3 separate regions of the Homo sapiens genome follow, and regions 1 and 3 are each linked to region 2. Evidence: promoter capture Hi-C in human tissues and cell types (Jung and others, 2019). All regions are on one chromosome and are shown on one strand. The core of a region is centred on a gene start or on the middle of the fragment in contact, and the rest is flanking DNA. Distances in the headings are between cores, read along the strand shown. Region 1 overlaps AAR2 (AAR2 splicing factor). Region 2 holds the start of CNBD2 (cyclic nucleotide binding domain containing 2). Region 3 overlaps EPB41L1 (erythrocyte membrane protein band 4.1 like 1).

Region 1 (3,629 bases), core at 934-3,433, 280 kb after region 2:
GTAGAGAGAATGCCTGTGATGAGGAGCAGTATTCTGTGGTAACCAGAGACCCAGTTACTTGCCCAGGGACAGTGGTGTCTGGATCATCAGGTCTCTGTTTGAGATGGGCATCTGATAGAAATTGGGAACATAATATTTTTTGAGTGCTACTTTGTGCCAGGTCTTATTCTAAATGCTATACATGTACTATATCCATTCATGTAATCTTTGCTACAACCCTCAAATAAGGAAATTGAGGCCTTAATAGATTGAGTAACTTGCCCAAGGTCACACAGCTGCTAAGTGGCAGAGCTAAGATTTGAAGCTAGGCAGTTTGGCTCCAGAGCCCATGCTCTTAGCCACCAAGCTGCTCATAGAGATTAAATCACAGAGCCCTGTGGTTAAGCAAACAAAAATAATCTGCCTGGCAGGCTGACCCTGGAATAAGTACTCATGAATTTTTCTTTTGTGGGAGGTTCCAGAACTGTTCCCACCCAATGGAGAATCTGTTTTATCTTTCCGTTGCCCACATTGTGAAGCATTAGATGTGTGGCCTTGGGCAAGCCCTTGACCTTATCTATGAAATGAGGCAAATACCATCTTCCTGATCGCCTTGTGGAGTTGGGCTGAGGGTTACATGGTATAGTGCAGTATTTCCTGACCCTGGAGCAGACCATCCACATTAGAATCACCTGGGGAGCTTGTTAGAGCTACAGATACGAAGGCCCCATCATCTCTCCTCCACCAGAACCTCTGAGGGTGAAGCTTGGGTAGCTTTACTTTTAACAGACTCTCAGTGATTCTGATGGGCAGCCAGGTTTGAAATCCACTTGGCATAATATCCATGAACACATTTTGTAAACTTAAAATGCCAGGCAAATACTGGGAATACCTCTTCTCTAGCAGTCTGATTTTATAGAAATCCAAAGCCACAGGTTGGTTTCCCATGGCTTGAATTCATAGCGGTTCAGCAGACATCTATTGAGTACCTGTTAGGTGCAAAATCTCCTGCCAGGCTCTGCAGGAGTGACAAGGATAAAAGCTCATCTGTTGCTGAGGTCCAGTGGAATTCATGGCCTTGTGAATAGTGATGGAGAGTGTCAGCTGGTCCTCCTCTCCCTCAGAATCACTTCTCCTCTCTGCACCTTTCAGGTGAACTCCAGTTTGCTTTTGTGTGCTTCCTGCTGGGGAATGTGTACGAGGCATTTGAGCATTGGAAGCGGCTCCTGAACCTCCTGTGCCGGTCAGAAGCAGCCATGATGAAGCACCACACCCTCTACATCAACCTCATCTCCATCCTGTACCACCAGCTTGGTGAGATCCCCGCTGACTTCTTCGTAGACATTGTCTCCCAAGACAACTTCCTCACCAGCACCTTACAGGTGAGCAGTCTTTCTGACTGAGCTGATGCACATGTGGGTCAGAATTGAGGCAACAGTATGTGTTTTGTTTCTCGCTATTCTTCCATGACCCCAAAATTTTTAAATTTCAGTTTCCTAGTCTTGGGATATTTCCTGCTTTTCTCTCTCTTACTCAATTGTAAGTGCCTCTATGCCAGAAATTTTCTCTCTGTACCACCCTCTCCCTACACCTCGTCCCCAGAGTGCCTAACACTGGGGTACTTGGATTTGAATTCCTCCCACTGCTTTGGTTTACTCAGCTTAAAACAGCGTTTCTTTCTCCCTGTAGCCATGAATTGCTACAACCCAGTAAAGCAGAATTTTGAAGTTTGTTATTCCCAGTGAAACATCTGCAGCTCCTTAGATCTCATTTAAGCATTAAAATAACTTTGATTTCCTGTTCAAACAAAATGTGCCAGTTTCTGCAGAGATTCTATGACAGAAAAAGTGAAATTTGCTTTTAACTTGGCAATTAAATTTTCATTATGAGTGGTAATTAGGAAAGAAGCTTCAAACAACTTACAATCTTCATCCTATGCTATTTCCTCCCTTTGCAAACAGATTAGTCCTTTATGTACTTGGGACAGCCTCTGTCACTCACATTGTGTAACTTTCTCAAGAATAGAAGAGGCAGAAGCTGCCACTGTCAGTTTCCATACTTTCCCTCCCATGAGCTTCTTTCTTCTCCCTGTGTGTAATACCCCCATGAGGCCTGCTCCATATAAGGCAGCCTTTCACCAACCTTCCAATCCCACTCGGGGTAACAGAAGGGACGAGCATTCGTTAAATATTGGGGCTGGGCGTGGTGGTTCATGACTGTAATCCCAACACTTTGGGAGGTGAAGGCAGGAGGATCACTTGAGCCCAGGAATTAAAGACCAGCTTGGGCAATATAGTGAGACCCCGTCTCTCCAAAAATTAAAAAATTGGCCAGGTATGGTCATGTGCACCTGTAGTCCTAGCCACTTGGGAGGCTGAGACAGGAGGATCACTTAGCCCAGGAGTTTGAGGCTATAGTGAGCAATGATTATGATCGTGCCACTGCACTCCAGCCTGGGCAACAGAGTGAGACCCTGTTCACTCATTGAATCCCTTTGGAGCCTTGTAAGATGGGGGTATTATTCCCATTTTACAAATGGGAACACTTGAGAATGGTTAAATCACTTACTTGAAGTCATACAGCTGGCAGGTGGAGGTCAGGATTTGTACCCAGGCCTGAGTCTTGGTTTCCTGCCTGTGCTTATGCCCTTGTGTAGTGAACACAGTGTGAATCCCCCAGAAAGGATTCTTGATTGACATCAGTGAAGACTTCATCGAGGTCCTGTTTCTCAGAGGTACAGAACGCTTTTCTAAAGCCAACCTACTGTTGGATGAGTCCCTGTGAGCAGGCATCTGACTTAAAGCTGGCAGTTGAAGGACCTGTGTAAACCATGGCAATGAGTCAGTCAAGCGCATGATTTGAGCCTGGTCTGTTCCACTCAGAAGAGCTATAAAACTGTCCTTTTACTGGTTCTTCATATAACAGAGAAATTAAACCCCTTTGTCCTTCCTCTGTGGGGAAAATTTTCCCCAAAGGTACTGGTTATGGGTTGTGAGGCAGTGTGAGGAGGCATTAGCCTGCTAACTTGCCTCTGGCAGTGGCTGCTTCCCTCCTGATGCACGTTGATGCGTCGCACAGACACAGGAGGGCCACGGTGTTGCTGGCTGTCCAGACCATTGTTAGCACAACCAGCAGCTGAGCTCTATAATTGCCAGGCTTTGTTGCCAGCAATGATTTACAAAGCAGAAAGTGCCCAGCTGGATTGCTAGATGCCCAGGTGGGTTGTGCAAAGCTGATGGTTGGAAACATTCAGTCTTTGAACTTTTCACCAAGAAAATTCGATGTCATTATTTGGAAAAATCCAGGGCATGTGCCAAAACAAAACAAAACAAAACAAAAAACACATGTCTTTGAGCATTCTTCATATATAACATTCTACTGAAAGTGTTGAGGAATATATATACATGTGAGTTAGCCAGGGTTCCTGCCCTCAAGGGATTTGTTCATTGATTTAGCAGGTAATTGCTGAGCATCTGCTGTATAGAAGACTCTGTTCTAGAACTGGGAATATAGCTGTGAGCAAGACAGAGTCATTGTCTTGACTCTTGTAATTTGAGAAAGTTAACAGAAAGTTAACTAGCCAAGTAACTCCAGATAGCAGACTCTTGTATTTTGAGAAAGTTAACAGAAAGTTAACTAACCAAATAGCA
Region 2 (3,343 bases), core at 335-2,834:
CTCCCACCAGATTGCCTTGAGAGACAATAGTCAATTTACAACCAAAAGTATGCCTGCCAGGAAACTCTGCCCCACCTGGAGAGTATCTCGAGACAAGGCCACTTTACAACCTAGTTCTGCCCAAGATGGTGGCAGCTCGACCAGGCGGTAGATAAGGCACCAAAGTGAGTCATGGAGACTCCCACCTGCTCATTCCCTCCTCTGCATGCCATTTATGCCAATTCCCCCTCCCGCTTTTTTTTTTTTTTTTTTTTTTTTTTTTGAGACAGAGTCTTGCTCTGTCGTTCAGGCTGGAGTGCAGTGGCACAATCTTGGCTGACTGCAACCTCTGCCTCCCGGGTTCAAGTGATCCTCCCACCTCAGCCTCCCGAGTAGCTGGGATTATAGGTGCCCACCACCTCACCCGGCTAATTTTTTTGTATTTTTAGTAGGGATGGGGTTTCACCACATTGGCCAGGCTGGACCAGACCTTGCTTCTGTTAATTGGATGCTACAAATGGAGAGCAAGTGTACCTGACATTTAGCTACACTGCTTTCTTAAAAAAAAAAAAAAAAAAAAGGCCCTGGCCAGGAGTGGTGGTTTATGCCTGTAATCCCGGCACTTTGGGAGGCTGAGGTGGGTGGATCACTTGAGGTCAGGAGCTTGAGACCAGCCTGGGCAACGTGGTGAAAGCCTGTCTTTACTAAAAATACAAAAATCAGCCGGGCATGGTGGCACACGCCTGTAATCCTAGCTACTTGGGCGGCTGAGGCAGGAGAATCACTTGAATTTGGGAGGCAGAGGTTGCAGTGAGCTGAGATTGGGCCACTGCACTCCATCCTGGGAACAAAGTGAGACAGTGTCTCAAAAAACAAAAAAGCCCTATCTTTGCAGGACAGGTGAGCCCCCAAATTGAGACTTAGCTTAGGAGAGTTCTTGGCTTTGCCCAAGGAAGGAATTCAAGGGTGAGCCAGTGGTGTTAGACAGCAATCTTTTATTGAATAGTGCTTCTCCTTGTGGGGCAGGGCTAACTCATGGGCAATGAATCCGGAGTCGATACCCAGTGTATGAGATGTTGGCAACTGTATTTATGCTCATCTCTAATCCCTTCTCAGCCTTTTGGCTGAGATCAAGTGTAGTATACGCATTCCTACCCACTTTCAATCACATGCAAATTAAGGGGCAGGCTAATGCAAATTAAGGGGCAGGTTAATGCAAATTAAGGAGTGGGTTTTTAGAGTTTTCTAGGAAAGAGGTAGCAACTTCCTGGTCATTGCCAAGACATTTGTACACTGTCATGGCACTGGTAGGAGTGTCTTATGTTAATGAGGGATGGGGACAGCTAGGGGGTCCTAGATCCTGTTTTGGTCAGCAGGGTTGTGCCATTCTCCTGTCTCACCAGGACTCTGGCAGCCATTTAGCTACTTTGAGCCCCAGTCTCCTATGTATGGAGTTGAGTAAAAGTTTGGGTGGTTGTGAGGATTAGCTGAGATAATGCCTGTGAGTATCCCATAAATGTTAGACTCCCACATTCCAATCCCTGTGTCCCCTGCCTCCAGAATCTTTCATTGTGACCTTAGGAGATTCTGAGAATGATTTTTCTCAGAGCAGGGCTTCCAGTAGCTGATGGTATGGTAGGAGGAGTGGAGTGGAGCTCTTGCCTTGTTACTGAGGAAATCTATTTGTTTCTAGTATTACTGGATTTTTGGGGAAAAATTTGTAGTCCTCCCCTTGAAAGGCAAAGGGGCTAGTTGTGCCATTTGCCTGCACAGGAACCATGAGGAGACATATGGTAACTTATGCCTGGCAGCTCCTGAAGAAGGAACTGGTGAGGAGGGGCAAGGGCCCTGGGAGGGAAGAGCAGAAGACTGAACAGACAGGTGTTTTGAGGAAGGTCGATGCAGGTGTAGGAGGGGTCTTGGATGAATGGTGGCCATCCTGTACCTTTTGGAGTCACAGCATGGCACAAAGGAGGGACCCCTGCCCTGTAGCCTACCAGCCCCCCACACTGGGCAAGCCATAAGCCACACTCAGAGCCACTGAGTCCTGTTCTGTACCCACTCTTCCTGCTATTATGAGATCCAGAGAGAACGAGGGAGGATAGAGTCAGGGTAGCAACATTGAGTCATAGGTTAAGCTTGTGAACTCTGGAGCCAGACTACCTAGGTTTAAATCCCTATCACCTATTAGTCATGTGACCCCAGGCAAGTTGCTTGGTTTGCTGTGCCTTTATTTTCTCCTCTGTAAAGTGAGATGATAATACTAGTACCTACTGCATAAATTTACTGATTAAATGATTTACATATCAGAATAGTGCTTTGGATAATGCCTGACAATAGTAAATTGTACTCAGTAAGTATTAATTTTATTCATAAAGTACCTTTCCCCATATTTCCATAGATATCTAATTTTTAAGAAATAGAACATTACAGGTGTAGGGAAAGCTCTTTACCATCCCATGCCCCTTTATTTCTCTTTAATAGTAACCACTTTCCTGAAGTTGGTGTCACCCTTCCTGTTTATATTTTTATATATTATCACATGTGTATGTATCCATAAACAATATATAGTATGTGGCACACTGTTTAAAAATGATACCATAAATAGCATCATAGTTCTTTTTTCCCACTCAAAATCATTTCAGCTTTATCCACATTGACACACACAGACTTAGTGCTGTGTTCAATCCTGTGACTGAACCATAATGTATTGATCCCTTCGATCCCTACTAATGAACATTTGTTTTCAGCCATTCACTGTTACACACAATGTTGCCATGATTACCCTCATGGCTATCCCCTTGTACATGTATGTTTCTCTGAAGAGGACATATAAAGTACATACAATTCTTCCATTGTGAAGTACACACATCCTCAACTTTATATAATGTTGCCAAATTGCTCTTCAACATGGTTGTACCATGTTTCCCAGTTCCCAGTGATAAGTGCAAAATAGTATCATGTTATTACTTTAATTTCCATTTCCATTATTTCTAGCAATGTTAAAAATGGTTTCACAATTTGGCTGGGGCATGAAGGCTCATGCCTGTAATCCCAGCACTTTGGGAGGCTGAGGTGGAAGGATCACTTGAAGCCAGAGTTGGAAACCAGCCTGGGCAACAAAGTGAAACCCCCTCTTTACAAACAATGTAAATATAAATACAAATGAATAAAAACAATATTTTCACAATTTATAGGTAATTTGAACTTTCCCTTTGAATTACCTTTGCTCATTTTGCTATTGGGTTATTTGTATTTTTCTTTTGATTTGTAGGATTACAAAAAATAAATTTTGGATCGTAATCCTTTGTTGATTATATGCATAGTAAGTATATTTTTCCAGTCTGTAGTTCGTTGTCTCACT
Region 3 (3,236 bases), core at 152-2,651, 260 kb after region 2:
GAGTCTCACTCTGTCACCCAGGCTGGAGTGCAGTGGCACGATCTTGGCTTACTCCAGCCTCCACCTCCCGGATTCAAGTGATTCTCGTGCCTCAGCCTCCCAAGTAGCTGAGACTACAGGCGTGTGCTACCACACCCAACTAATTTTTGTATTTTTAGTAGAGACGGGGTTTCACCATATTTGCCATGCTGGCCTCAAACTCCTGACCTCAAGTGATCTGCCCGACTCGGCCTCCCAAAGTGCTAGGATTACAGGTGTGAGCCACTGCACCTGGACCTATCTAGGAAAATTTTAAATTGCATATGTAGTTCACATTCTATTTCTATTGGACAGCACTGGTCTAGAAGTGTAGGTTGGCCATGGGCGGAGCCTACCTCCCAGGCTTCCTCAGACCTTCATACAAGTGATTGTCATTCCTATCCCCTCAGTTTTTCAATCATTCTTCCTTTATTCCTCCCAAATCTCAGAGTGGTAGAGTGTAGGCCACTTGCTGAGCTGGGTGTATCACCTGGGGAAGCCTGTTTAAAATACAGGCACTGGAGAACCCTCTCCATAAAGTCTGATTTAGAAAGACTGGACTGGGACCTGGGACCTGTATTGCCTGGGAATCTTCATTTCTGCCTTGGTCCTTAGGGAGTCCGCGTGCAGCCAGGTATAGTAGCATTGATGCAAAGAACTCTGTATTGGGAATCCAGGGACCTGGCTCTAAAGCTGTTCCACTGACTGGTGTGTGACCGTAGGTCCGTTTCTTCCCGCTTGAGGACTCGGTTTCCTCACTTGCAAAATGAAGAGGTGGAGCGAGCCCCCTTCCAATTACAGTCCTCTGGCTATTTGCTTTCCTGGGGTATCTGTTGTGCTTTTCTCATCTCTTCTCCATTCCCTCTCTCACGCCTCCTCATCTTTCCCAGGGCATTCAGAACCAGGCCCCCAGGCTCCCGCCTTCCCATTTCCCTAGCCATTCAGAGCCCTCATCCTGGCCTCCACATCCTGCCCACCCCGCCGCGATGCAGTCTTTCACATCTGCCCACCTCACTGCTCCCTTTGCTGTCTCATTCCCTCCTCCTCGCCTCTCTTTAGTTCTTTCTTTGCTGCCATTGCCCCACGCACCACCATGCCCCATCTCTCTCTCTTCTGGGTTGTTCTGTAAAGGTCACCTTGTTTATGTTGCCCTGGCAAGCCAGAAGTTTCTCTCCCTTGCCTTTTCTGCCCACATGCTTTACCAGTAATTATGGTCAAGTAGAACCCAAGTCTGACTCTTAATACAGTCAGACTCACTAATTCTAGAAGAGGTCTCCTCTGAATTCAAAAACTCCTTTTTAAAGTGCTTGGAAACATTGGCTTAATGGATGGATGCCTCTTGGTACCCCAAGGAAGAGCTCTGTACTCCTGCAGAGTCTCAAGCCCTGCCCTTTATTAGCTGTGTGACCTTTTAGCAAATCATTTAAACTTTTCAGCCTATGATTCCTCGTCAGCCAAATGGCAATGATCATCACAGTAATAACAATCGCTATAATTTATGGAAAGCTTACCCTGTGCCAGGCACCAGGCTGTGCACTCAACACAAGTACTGTTACCTGCTCATTCATTTTACAAATGAGGAAACTGAGGGTCAGAGATGTTAAGTGGCTTGCTCACAGTCATGAAGCTGTGAACATGATGGATTGATTAGAGAGTGAAACCCAATCTGTTAGACTCCAAAACCCAATGGTCTTGACCTTTTCACCACACCCACTTTTCATAACGTCTGTCTCCTAGGGCTACCAAGATCATCCATGCAGCATGGTAGTTAGCACACTGCCTACCACATCGCGAGTGCTTAATAAAAGCTCATTATGACTACTATTACCATTAACTTGAAATAGGCTAACAAAATGCTGCACGCAGGGACTGTGCTGTGCTGTAATAAACCAAGAAGAATAAATCATAACACTGTATTGTTTAGATGTCTTTGGTACTTCTGAAGTGTCTATGGGCTTACGAAGACATCCCACATACCCAGAATAATGATTACACTGACTTATAGGACAGCCACTTCATTAATTGATGCACAAACTTAAAGTGCAGCCTGTTACTGTAAGGAAAAACCAAACCAAACCAAACCAAAACCAATGCCCAGTTAGGATGTAGTAATTTTGCTACTGAGTAATATTCTTTGAGTAGTATTCTTTCTACTCAATTTTGACCAGGGGCCAGGCACAGTGGCTCACACTTGTAATCCCAGCACTTTGGGAGGCTGAAGCAGGAGGATTACTTGAGCCCAGGGGTTCAAGACCAGCCTGGCCATCATAATGAGACCTTCGTTTCTATAAAAAATGTAAAAGATTAACTGGGTGTGGTGGCTGGCACCTGTAGTCCCAGCTACTTGGGAAGTTGAAGCGGGAGGATTGCTTGAGTCCAGGAGGTCCAGGCTGCAATGAGCTATGATCGCGCCACTGCACTCCAGCCTGGCAATAGAGCAAGACCCTGTAAAAAACAAAAAACAAAAAACGAAACGAAGGAAGGAAGGAATAGATGGATACAACTAGGTTTTGGAGCTAGAAACACCTTGGTAGCTGTGTGCCCAGAGGAACCTCTCTGACCTCAGTTTCCTCATCTGCAAAATGTCATTAATGTATACATTGGAGTTGCTGTAATAACTAAACAACACCTGTGATATACTGGATCTGTGTCTTGCCTACAGAAGGGGCTCAGCAAGGTGAACCTGCTTCCTTGTCCCTCTGAGGTTTTTCCATGTTTAGAGGTTGATGAGAGTACTGAGAAAGTCAGATCGTAATTCTCCACCACCAGCCTGGTGCCTGAGGCCCTGTCTCCATGAGGGTGTTTGTCTTACTGGTCTTCATCTTCTGTTCCTTCTGCAAATCCTCCAGAAACATCTGTCCCTGCTTCAGTTAACTCTGTCTTCCTTCTTAAAGTTCTTCCTTCTTGAAGTTCTTGCTATGAGCGTGGAAAGTCACTCATGTCACACAGAACCTTTTCCCTTCTCTCCCTGCAACCTTGCAGGTCAGACGTCTGGTTTCTGCTCCATCTTCTCCCACTGGCCCACCTCCTTCAGAGAGGACCTGTCTCCCAAACACCACCAGCAAGAGGGCAGCACTTGCCTAGCTTCCTAACCTTCCAAAATTTAATGGGAAAAAATTGACCTGTTCCAAAACAGGAACCTTGGGTTTTAGTCTTGGTTTTGCCAACTTACTAAGCCTGAAGCCTCTGGGCCTCGGTTTTCCTATGTGTCAAATGAG

The links. The method cuts DNA at HindIII sites, captures the fragments that hold promoters and counts their contacts. A contact is called where the count stands out against the background at its distance.
Region 1: a fragment that was not itself captured here is called in contact with the fragment with the promoter of CNBD2 in region 2 in 5 of the 25 tissues and cell types used here (dorsolateral prefrontal cortex, mesenchymal stem cells, mesendoderm cells and 2 more).
Region 3: a fragment that was not itself captured here is called in contact with the fragment with the promoter of CNBD2 in region 2 in 1 of the 25 tissues and cell types used here (IMR-90 fibroblasts).

Annotation. Positions count from the first base shown.
Region 1 is chr20:36,243,566-36,247,194 of GRCh38, forward strand. AAR2 (AAR2 splicing factor) reads left to right here. Exons shown (of 4, transcript NM_001271874.2): 3 at 1,132-1,361. Among named protein-coding and RNA genes, the nearest start is that of AAR2, 8.9 kb to the left of the region's middle. The HindIII fragment of the contact is 4,125 bases long and covers 122-3,629 here.
Region 2 is chr20:35,967,006-35,970,348 of GRCh38, forward strand. CNBD2 (cyclic nucleotide binding domain containing 2) reads left to right here and starts at 1,585. Exons shown (of 12, transcript NM_001365709.1): 1 at 1,585-1,808. The coding sequence starts at 1,758. It also overlaps the pseudogene LOC124904982. The HindIII fragment of the contact is 12,223 bases long and covers 1-3,343 here.
Region 3 is chr20:36,224,846-36,228,081 of GRCh38, forward strand. The region is part of intron 21 of EPB41L1 (erythrocyte membrane protein band 4.1 like 1); the gene reads left to right. The region is part of intron 1 of LOC105372602 (a long non-coding RNA gene); the gene reads right to left. Among named protein-coding and RNA genes, the nearest start is that of AAR2, 10 kb to the right of the region's middle. The HindIII fragment of the contact is 5,078 bases long and covers 1-3,236 here.